2 separate regions of the Homo sapiens genome follow, and region 1 is linked to region 2. Evidence: promoter capture Hi-C in 16 types of primary human blood cells and fetal thymus (Javierre and others, 2016). All regions are on one chromosome and are shown on one strand. The core of a region is centred on a gene start or on the middle of the fragment in contact, and the rest is flanking DNA. Distances in the headings are between cores, read along the strand shown. Region 1 holds the start of JHY (junctional cadherin complex regulator). Region 2 has its middle 32 kb from the start of SNORD14E.

The links. The method cuts DNA at HindIII sites, captures the fragments that hold promoters and counts their contacts. A CHiCAGO score of 5 or more calls a contact.
Region 1: a contact is called between the fragment with the promoter of JHY here and a fragment that was not itself captured in region 2, in 15 of 17 cell types (M2 macrophages, endothelial precursors, naive CD4 T cells and 12 more). The highest score is 11.8, in M2 macrophages.

The regions. Positions count from the first base shown.
Region 1 is chr11:122,881,043-122,887,053 of GRCh38, forward strand. JHY (junctional cadherin complex regulator) reads left to right here and starts at 1,717. Exons shown (of 9, transcript NM_024806.4): 1 at 1,717-1,930; 2 at 4,719-5,151. The coding sequence starts at 4,808. RefSeq lists a silencer at 1,836-2,195. The HindIII fragment of the contact is 12,251 bases long and covers 1-2,796 here.
Region 2 is chr11:123,022,947-123,028,381 of GRCh38, forward strand. No RefSeq gene overlaps it. Among named protein-coding and RNA genes, the nearest start is that of SNORD14E, 32 kb to the right of the region's middle. The HindIII fragment of the contact is 1,709 bases long and covers 2,927-4,635 here.

The DNA.
Region 1 (6,011 bases), core at 467-2,966, 140 kb before region 2:
TTTATTTTATTTTTTTGAGATGGAGTCTCGCTCTGTCACCCAGGCTGGATTGCAGTGGCACATCTCAGCTCACTGCAACCTCTGCCTCCCCGGTTCAAGCAGTTCTCCTGCCTCAGCCTCCCATGTAGCTGGGACTACAGGCGTGCACCACCACGCCCAGCTGATTTTTGTATTTTTAGTAGAGACGGGGTTTTGCCATGTTGGCCAGGCTGGTCTTGAACTCCTGACCTCAGGTGATCCACTCGCCTAGGCCTCCGAAAGTGCTGGGATTACAGGCATGAGCCACTGTGCCTGGCCGAAGAATTCTCTTTTTTTTTTTTTTTTTTTTTTGACAAGGTCTCACTCTCACCCAGGCTGGAGTGCAGTGGCACAATATTGGCTGACTTCAGCCTCAACCTCCTGGGCTCAGGTGATCCTCCCACCTCAGCCTTCCAAGTAGCTCGGACTATAGGCACGCGCCACTACGCTCAACTAATTGTTAAAAATTTTCGTAGAGACAAGGTTTTGCCATTTTCCCCAGGCTGGTCTTGAACTCTTGGGCTCAAGCAATCCTCCAGCTCGGTTTCCCAAAATGCTGGGATTACAGGGTGAGCCACTGCACCTGGCCTCAAACCAATCTTTGAAGGTAGTTATTCAAATCTACTTGTTGTTTTAATGTGAAGATAATTCCTAATGCTTCCTTTCTTTATTCTTTTTTGAAACCTTTTTTGATAGTGAAATATTCTACCCATACATAAATGTACAGCTTAATGAATTTTTACAAGATGAACATCTATATAACCATCATTAAGGTCAGGAAATACAGTCTCAAAAACATTCTTCTCCCTACCTGCCAGAACCGACCACAATCCTAACTTGATGGGAATCACTAAGTGGGTAGTGTTTCCCATAAAATTGCTTTTTTGCTTTTTTTCATAGTTTCCTCCACTAAGTATGGAGCCACAATCACTGTAGAGTGTAATTTAGCCTGTTTTTTATATACAAAAATCATACAGTATGTACTTTTTCTGGGTTTTTGTTGTTGTTCAAAATTGTGTTTTTAGTATGCCTCCATATTGTTACACATAGTTGTATTTCATTCATTTACAGTGCTATGTAGTATGCCAGTATAGGCAATAGCATAATCTAATTAACCATTCTTTTGATGGATAGTTCAGTTATTTCCAGTTTGCATGCACAGGAGCACGCACTTCTTAGGGTAAATACCTAAAAGTGAAATTGCTGGATCCCAAGGCATACATATCCTGGCTAATGTCAAACCATTTTCCAAAATGGTTGGTTGCATCGGTTCTCACGTCCGCCCGCAGAAGGTGACGGTTCTTTGCACTACGTCCTCCCTAGCACCTGACGCTGCCAGACGTTTCAACTTTGGACTTTTCGACTCAACTTATGGTGAGTGTGGTATTATCCGCTGTGGTTTTAATTGGCCTTCTTCTGATTATTAATGAATTAAAGCATCATTTCAATAAACAGATATTTATTGGCCATTTAGATTTCTCGTGTGTTTGTGAAATACCTTTCCATTTACCCATTATTTAATTGGGTTCCTTTTCTTCTTGATTTGTAGCAGTTCCTCGCGTATTTTAGTAGTTTTATTTGTGGCAAAGATCTCCTCCCCCGGGTGGCCTCTGCCCTCCGGCGCTGGGAAGTCCGGGCGGCGAGGCAGCCTCTCCCGGGGCGTTCGGGCTCCTCCGGCTCTGCCCCGATGTCGTTATTACGGCCGTTTGCAGCCTCCGTGCCAGGGCCGGGGGTGCGGTTCGGGACGCGGGATCCTAGGTCGGGTCCTGCCCCGCCCATGTGGCGCCGGCGTCTGTGTTGTCTGCGGTCTCCAGGGCAGCGCCGGGGCGGGCGGGGGCCCGGGCGGCGGCGGCGGCGGCGCGGGAGGATGCGGGGCCCGTCCGGGTCGCGGCCGCGGAGGAGCGCCGGGCAGGTGACGGGCGGTGGCCTCCCGGATCTGGGGTGGGCGGCGCGCCCGGGGAGGGAAACGGGAAGGGCTTACTGGGGATGGGGACGGCAGGAAACCACCCAAGCAAGCTGGGGAGGAGCCGGCGCGGGAGCCTTCGGGACGGAGTGGGGAGCGACAAGGGGGCGAGGCCGCGACAAGGGGCTGGGGGGCCGCCATGCGAGGCTTCGGCGCCCGGGCACCCAGAGCAGCCCTGTTCCCGGTCAATTAGGACCGGTCCCGGGCACCAGGCCCGCCGACTTGTCACTTCCTGGACCTCCAAACGCCCCTTGTGACAGGCCTTGTTCCTCAGGAACAAGCAAAGGTAGAAAACCGAACGCCTCCCCTGGGCAGCTTCCGGCCTGTTTCAAACCAGGGTTCGTTCCTTTTTCTTTACGATTCATCTTGGTGAGCCCAAGCAGGGTTCCTTTTCCCCTCCAGGAGAAAGTTCGATTGTCCCATGCTAGTGGACTAGACCCACTGCAGGGATCCCTGGGGAGCTGGCCGCTTCTTAGTCCCTAGGTGCCATCGGATCTATCGCTGTCTTGTTTATTCAGGAGACTAGTCACCTCTCTTGGTCAGAAATTTCAGCGGCACAACCTTTTTTTTTTTTCACTGGACGGGAGGAGGGAGCCACATTCATGAAATTTAAACGCCCACTTTCTAACTTATTCAAGCTGTCAGCTGTTCCTTCTTCCACCCCATGTTTTGGTAAGATCAGGCCTCCACAGAAAACCCAGCTTTTGTGGCGTTTGGCTTTGCTCTTTGCATACTTTAGCAAACTTCAGGAATCTGCTAACATCAGCAAAATTATCTTCTGTGGTTACTGTTTTATTTTTTATTCATTCCAAGAAAGCTTAGCCTATTTCATTTAAGAAGAGAAGTTCAAGGGACTGAATTATTTTAAGAGTAATTCTAAGTTGCACTATAACGCTTAAGCTTGCTCTTCAGGATCTCAAATTCAGTGACCTTAGCTCCTCCAGTAAAACCGGTGTTAAACAATCTCTTTTACTTAAAATGTGTTAGTATTTGATAGATTTGCTGCTTTCTTGGCACATCCTAAAAAAGCAACAATTAAAATAATAAGGCAGAATGCAATATGTATTTTAAAAATAAGAGACAAAATAATACAACAAACCAGTCTGTAATATTAGAGAATAATATGTTAGTCTACCAACAGGGCAGACTTCGAGTTCAATAGAAAACTCACTTCGTGTGTATTTACATATGAACGTTCCCTTTTGCCTGTTGTTTGTTAAGGTGCTTTCCTCCAAGGATTTGATGATGCTCCTTGCAAACATTAGCAACAAGGTCAACATTATAAGCAATCCTAGGAATAGTAATAAGGTTGTGTCATTTAATTAAAGTTAGGATTTGCCAAAAGAACAAGAGCAAGCCATTAAGACAAATTTTACAGCAATTTCTAATGGTAAAGGTTTCTGTTACCTGACTCACAGAAAAAAAAAAAATGGGTATAAAGGCAGTGAGATAGAAAATAGACCAAAATAGAAATGCTAGGTAGAGATGAAAGGAAGCACAATCCAAAAACATCATGTCCGTTCGGTCCTACATGAACTCAAAGCACCCTTTCCATGGCTCTTTATAATGACCCTTACAGACAGTGCAGGTTCACTTGAATCACACTCGTAAGTGAGTTGGAAGGGACTCCAGCTAACTCTTAGCTGTAATTCAGGCCAATCTCCCACCCACTCAACTTTCCCCAGGATAGCATCCCGTTCGGTAATGTAGACCTCCAGGCTCTGCTTTGGATCGCTCAGTGGCAGAATTCACAAGACCACTAAATCTTTTGTTGAACAGTTTTATTTATTTTTTCTGATAGGGTCACGTTCTGTTACCCAGGCTGGAGTGCAGTGGCACTCCAGCTCACTGCAGCCTCTGCCTGCCCGGCTCGAGTGACCCTCCTCCCACCGCAGTCTCCCGAGTAGCTGGGACTACAGGCCCATCCCACCATGCCCACTAATTTTTTGTATTTTTTTTTTTTTTTTGTAGAGATGGGGTTTTGCCATGTTGCCCGGGGTGGTCTTGAACTCCTGGACTTAAGCGATCTGCCCACCTTGGCCTCCCAAAGTGCTGGTATTACAGGCGTGATTGTTGAACAGTTTTAATCGTTATTATGGGTTTTAAAAAATACCGGATGAGGTTGATCTCCATTTATGTCCACCTAAATTATATGTTCCTATCTAGTCACAACCTGGCTATCAGAAAGTCTTTTCCAAATGATGTTGCCAGCCCATATAGGTCTAGGAACAAAACAGCTTCCCCATTTACAGTTCCAACTATGGAAAACTACACTCTTCTTTCTTCTTACTTTACTTTCCAAAACATAGCCCCTGAACCTGTTTTACTCTATCCATGAATAACTACGGACCATATTTATATTGCCCATAGTTATTTGGGCATTTGAAATAAGGCTATCAAAGTACTGTCCATAATTAACCATTTGTCTTAGTCCAGGCTTGTCTGTAACAAGCCCTTGGAAGCTAGAAATAGGAATCCACTTCCAAGCAGCCATTTATTTCATCAATAAAACTGCATTCGATTACTCAGGCTGCTTATGAGCGCTACATCAGATGTGTTTCTGCAGAGAGAAAAACAATTGTTTTTCTAATAGACCTTTCTTATACACACAAAAGGGTGCATACAAAAGCCTGCAGATAATATAACAAGGTTCTCTTACTCATTTAAATATTTGATTAACGTTGACAGTATTGAGATTTTAGTGGTCGCAGAGTAACATAAATATATTTTTTTTCAGGTAACGCTTTTGTGAACCACAACTTTAAATATCAGCCAGCTGCTCCTATCAACACGAGTATCCCCTGTTAATTTTTTGCATTTTTCAAGATGAGTAAACGTAAACTAATTCCCAAGCTCTCTATTCAATCTCCTGTCCTTCATACCAACTTAAATGTCCAGTCCACACACCCACCTTTGAAGAAAGAAGACTTACATCGGATTTCAAAAGACTCCTTGGAATCTGATTCAGAAAGCCTCACGCAAGAGATTATGTGCCATTCTGAGTTTGATGATCGAATCCGGGGCAACGGTATGGAGCCCGACAGCTTAGACGAGGAGGAAAGCCCTCGATGGGGAAGCCTGCACGAGATGGAAGAGGAAGCAAGTGGAAAAGCAGCTCAGATGGCTCGCGAGCAAAACCACCATACCTGGGACCAGGGCGCCAATAACAGGTAAGGAATTGGCTTGTGTAAGATAATAATGGGCTCTAAAATGTATCATTAGATAATTACTGTCGTCATTCCAAATTAGAGTAAGGGCAAGCTGCCCTAATGAGCGCCGTGTGTGAGACAGGTCTCCAAGCAGCCAAGGATAGCTGGGCACCATGTTTTTTCCATATTCAGATTTTTTTTAATTAAAAAGTGCAATGGGTATTAATAAGGGCAATTCGCATTTCTCATACCATTTACTTCCTGTCCATATTCCAAGTGTCTCCGCACTAGGACCTCACCTGGGAGAAATTCCAGAAAGCCGGGTATGGAAAAGGATGTGGAGTCAGGTGGACTTGATTTGGTCCAGGCGTTGCTGTTTAGTGTATAATCTGGAATAAATCACTTAACTCTTTTTTTTATTTTTTTAAAAATTTTATGTAGTATTAAATATTTACAATAGAGATGGGAGCTCATTATGTTGGCCAGGTTGGTCTTGAACTCCTAGCCTCAAGCAATCCTTCCACTTCAGCCTCCCAAAGTGCTATGATTACAGGCATAAGCCACCATGCCTGACCCACTTAATTCTTTTTTTGGCTCACTTTTTCTCGTCTGTCAAATAACCTGACTTGCCTATCTCACAGGATTGCTATGAATGTCAATAAAGTACAAATAATTGGGGGTAGAATCTTACTTGGCCCATTCAAAGCTAGTAGAGGTCTACCTCTCAGGGCTTGTATGATCATATAAAGATTTAATCTAATAACCAGAATTTAAGGGATTTAACCTTGTGCTATGAGCTACCAAAAAAAAGTAAGGGAATATGAAATAATGTGTGATATCACTCTGTTACAATTGAGGCACTGAGGATATGAGAGTACAGA
Region 2 (5,435 bases), core at 2,531-5,030:
CTCTTGATGTCCTGTCTGAGCTTCTTTTGCAGAGGCTGATAGACCAAGGAGCTCAGTCACTCTTAGATAAACCCGCTTTGGCTATCAACAAATATGTATGTTTGTTTTTCCTTGAGAGAAGTTTTATAAAGGAAGATGGAAGGAGTTCAAGATTCCTAGGCAAAGAAGAGGACAGAGGCTGAAATGTGCTTCCTTTTTTTCATTTTGCTTGGACCTAAATGGCAGGAAATTTCTTAACTAAAATTAAAAAGCAACTAGAATATCTCTTCCCATCTCATGAATACGTTGCTTTCTAAAGTCAACCGAATCCAAGCAGCTGACTTTCAAAATGGGGCCGAAGGAGACTCTAAAGTGCCACCTGGTGGCCATCTTCAGCACAAGCGAAAAGGAAAAGGGATTGCAGTGAGATCTTTGATCCAGGTAGGGCTGATAGCGTAGAAAACTCCCCAGCGACAAAAGTGGTATTAAAAGTAACAAAAAAGGCCGGGCGCGGTGGCTCACGCCTGTAATCCTAACACTTTGGGAGGCCGAGGTGGGCGGATTGCCTGAGCTCAGGAGTTCGGGAACAGCCTGGACAACACGGTGAAACCCCGTCTCTAACAAAATACAAAAAATTAGCTGGGCGTGGCGGCGTGCGCCTGTAGTCCCAGCTACTCGGGAGGCTGAGGCAGGAGAATTGCTTGAACCTGGGAGGCGGAGGTTGCAGTGAGCCGAGATCGCGCCACTGCCCTCCAGCCTGGGCGACAGAGCGAGACACCGTCTCAAAAAAAAAGGAACAAAAAGGCTTTATTTGACCTGCGGCCAAACCAATGGAAACTTCAGTGGAGGTGGGTTAGAGTGAAGTTCAGGACTTTTAAAGCACTTGTGAGAATGTCTTCCCACAGGACTAAGGAAACAGGTGATACAGAAACAGATAAGGACATCCGGTGAAAGGAGTAAGGTAGGAAGAGATGAGGGTTCTAACCCTCCTACAGGCTTGGGAGTACTTAGCCTGGAGATATTTCTCCAAGCCTTCAAGTTGTCTGCAAGACAGTTCCATATATATGGTGTTTTTCAATATATTTTTACAAATACTATTTATGTTTTAAAATATTCATTGAACATGGAGAAACACCATCTCTACTGAAAATACAAAATTAGCTAGGCGTGGTGGTACATGCTTGTAATCCCAGCTACTCGGGAGGCTGAGGCAGGAGAATCGCTTGAACCCATGAGGCGGAGGTTGCGGTGAGCCGAAATCGCGCCATTGCACTCCAGCCTGGGCAACAAGAGCGAAACTCCGTCTCAAAAGAAAAAAAAATGCATTCAATTTATTACAGGTTTATAACATAACCACAATAAAAGAGGTGAGAAAAAAGAATTAAGTAACTTTGGACTGTTATTTAACTATGTACTCTAAACGCAAAGAGCACACAAATTTTACTGTATTTAATAAATTTGTTTTTCACAAGGCTGTAGGTTGGAAATTCTAAAACTGTTTTATGTGTAATCTAGTGTTGAACAAATAAGTAAATACATTGTGAATAATAACCACCGAATTTTTTACTGTCAGAGAAAGGAATTAAAAACAAGAAAGGGAAATAATAGAATGAACCCTGAGAGCTGGAATGGAACTGGAGGTATCAATATAAAATAATAGGTTTTTTTTGTTTTTTGTTTTTTGTTTTTTCTTTTTTCAGACAGAGTCTCTCTTTTGCCCAGGCTAGAGTGTAGTGGTGAGATCTCAGCTCACCACAACCTCCATCTCCCGAGTTCAAGCAATTCTCCTGCCTCAGCCTCCCAAGTAGCTGGGACTACAGGAGTGCGCCAACACGCCCGGCTAATTTTTGTATTTTTAGTAGAGACAGGGTTTCACTATGCTGGCCAGGCTGATCTCAAACTGCTGTCATCGTGATCCGCCCACCGCGGACTCCCAAAGTGCTGGGATTAAAGGCGTGAGCCACTGCACCCGGCAAAGTCATAGTTTTTAATAGAGAGACAGGGAAATAAGTAAAGACATGTTTAAGTGTACACATACGTATATTTCCTAGCCCTGATCACTGAGGGAGGAAACAATGACACCCCAGTAGCAGTAAGCATCTAGTGCCCAGATCTTTTTTTTTTTTTTTTTTTTGAGCCTGAGTCTTGCTCTGTCGCCCAGGCTGGAGTGCAGTGGCGTGATCTCGGCTCACTGCAAGCTCCGCCTCCCGGGTTCACGACATTCTCCTGCCTCAGCCTCTCCAGTAGCTGGGACTACAGGCACCCACCACCACGCCCGGCTAATGTGTGTGTGTGTGTGTGTGTGTGTGTGTGTGTGTGTGTGTGTGTGTGTTTAGTAGAGACGGGATTTCACTGCAGATCTTTCTTTCTAAATATTATTCTCCAGTAAAAAGGAACCCGGTCTACTTAAACAGATAGCTGATTATACGGCTGGGGCAGGGAAGAACAGAATGAACTTAGGACATCTTGTGGAGCTAGTAACTAAGGAAGTGCTCAAAAAATGATGGACACATGTTGAAATGACACAAGCCAACTTGGTAAGACTCCTAGATCTGGGACAATCTGAACAACAAAAATGTTTAAAAGATAATAATGTTCACTCACAGATTAAAAGCAATATTCATGAGCCCATACTTATTTAAATAAAAAATTGAATAAACAAATAAATGAGGAAGAAAGGAAAGTTCTTTCTTACTGTAATACTCCAATTAATAAATGCAGAAGGAGTGATGCAAATAGCAAGTCACCAATGGCAAAGATCACAGTAAAAATTGTTTTTCAAGAACGTATCAGTGGATGCTAAAATTCATGGATGAAATTATTACCAGAAACATGATATTTATTTAGTCTCTAAGTATTTTTCCATGAGATGCCTATTAATTACAGTGAGAAATGTCATAACTTCACAATGTAGAAATGTGGCATATATAGCCTTAACCAAGATTAAAGCTTATTGTGTGCTTCCTGATATGATGCACTGAGAAGGACATGGCATCCCTTATGTGGTATCCTTACCAAAAATGCATAACCTGAATTTAATGTCTGCAAGGAATGCAGACATACCCAAATGGAGGGATGTTCCACAAAATAACTGACAGCTGCTCTTCAAAGGTGTCAAGGTTGGAAAAGATAAAGAAAAACTGAGACATCGTCCCAGCTTAAAACAGGCTAATAAATAAAGGCAATGTGTAATCCTGGTTTGGATCATGGATCATAAAAAGGACAGTATTGAGTCCAGATGCAGTGGCTCACGCCTGTAATCCCAGCACTTTGGGAGGCCGAGGTGGGCGGATCACAAGATTCAGCAGTTCAAGACCAGTGTGGCAACACGGTGAAACCCCATCTCTACTAAAAATACAAAAATTAGCCAGGCATGGTGGCGGGCCCCTGTAATTCCAGCTACTCCGGAGGCTGAGGCAGGAGAATTGCTTGAACCCAGGAGGCGGAGGTTGCAGTGAGCCGAGACCGTGCCATTGCACTCCAGCCTGGGCGACAGAGCAAGACTCTGTCTCAAAAAACAAAAGGACAGTATTGAAACAGATAATGAGAATTAAATGAGATAGCAATGAATTAAGTAGTAATGTTAACTTCCCAATTTTATCTTTGTACTGTTATTATATCATATGTTAACATTTGGAGAAGTTAGGTAAAGAGGATATAGAAATTCTTTGTACTATTTTTGTAAATCTTACATAATTTACAATAAAAAGTTGTAAAAAACTAAGCAAGAATTATGAACCATCCACTGTGTATAAGGCACTTTAACCAGAATATAATTTCTCAAGAAATATGTATCCTGTACGTTAGAGAACTTTTAACATAATATCAATTAATCAGAACATTGTCCTTCTATGAGCTAGAAATCCAATAACTTTCTTCTTGTACATCTCACATATCTCTATCTTAATTAATTAATTAGTTTGTTCATTCTTCTTTTTAATTAAAAAACTATGGGCTAGGCCTCATGCTGGGAACACAATAATGAAAAAGCCAGACATAATTCCTACCTCCCATAAACTAAAAGTCACATGGAGATATAATTAAAGAGTCAATTACAGTGTATAATAAGTGCCAAGATGTGTTAAGCAATTTCAGGCCACAGAACATGGCAGTTAGCACAAATTCTAGAGCCATATTGTCTGGGTTCAAATCCGTGCTCCATCACCAGCTGTGTGACTTTGGGAAAGTTACTTAACCTCTCTATGCCTCAATTTTCTCATCTGTACAATAAGAATAATAATAGTATCTACATCATATGGTTGTTGTGAAAATTAAAGGAGTTAATTTTATAACGTTGCACTTAGAATGGTGCCTGGTGAATCGCTTGAGCTCAGGAGTTTGAGACCAGCGTGGACAACATGGTAAAACCATGTCTCTACAGTAAAATAAAAAAAAAAAAATTAGCTGAGCATGGTGGCATGCACTATAGTCCCAGCTACCTGGGAGGCTAAGGCTGGGGGACCAATTGAGCCTGAGAAGTCAAGGCTGCAGTGAGCCACGATAACATCACTGCACTCCAGCCTGGGTGGCAGAGCGAGACCCTGTCTCAAACAAAAAAAGGTGCCTGGCACGCAGTAAGTCTAGGAAATGAATGGGCACACACCTGTTGCGGGGGCAGGGCTCTACTGTGTGAAGACGGGGAGTATTTAAGAAAAAAGCTTCCAGAACAAGTGGCATGTGAGCTGAGACCCAAAAGGCAGAACAATCAGGCTTTGCAAAAGCCTGGAATTGAGACAGGGCAAAGAGATTTGCAAAACTGAAAGAGTTCGTGGCCCAAGTGATGAGTGGTGAGAAATGAAGTCAGAGATTAGTAGGGACCAGATCATACAGGGCCTTTTCAGTGGAGTGAAAGAGCCTGGACTTCACCTTTAAGGCTGTGGAAGCCGTGGTGAGATGGAGGCAGGAGGAGCATCTCAATGGCCCTTCAGAAAGATTTCTAAGGCAGCAAAGTGGAGATTTATAGAGGAGATTCACAGCAGGCCACACTGGAGCCAGAAGAGGCGGGAGGCTTTTGTGGTGATCCAAAGAGGAGATGGTAACGTGCTGGACAAAGAGAAGTGGACAGATTGGAAAGATCCTTAGAAGGTTGAATCCTTTTGCTTTCCACTAAGATATGAGCACTATGAGAAGAGAATTTTTCAACAGCTTTATTGAGATGTTAGGCACGTACCATACAATTCACCCCTTTAAAATGTACAGTTGAATAGCGTTTAGTATATCCACAGCTGAGCATCCATTGCCAAAATAGATTTTAGAACATTTCTGTCAACCAGGCAAAATCCCATATCCATTAGTAGTCACTCCATATTTCTCCCCAAACTCCCTCCCCCAAGCCCTAGGCAACCACCTGTCTGCTTTCTATTTCTATAGATTTGCCTATAGACATTTCATAGAAATAGAATCATACAATATGGTCTTTTGTGACTGGCTTCTTTCACTTGGCATAATGTTTTCAA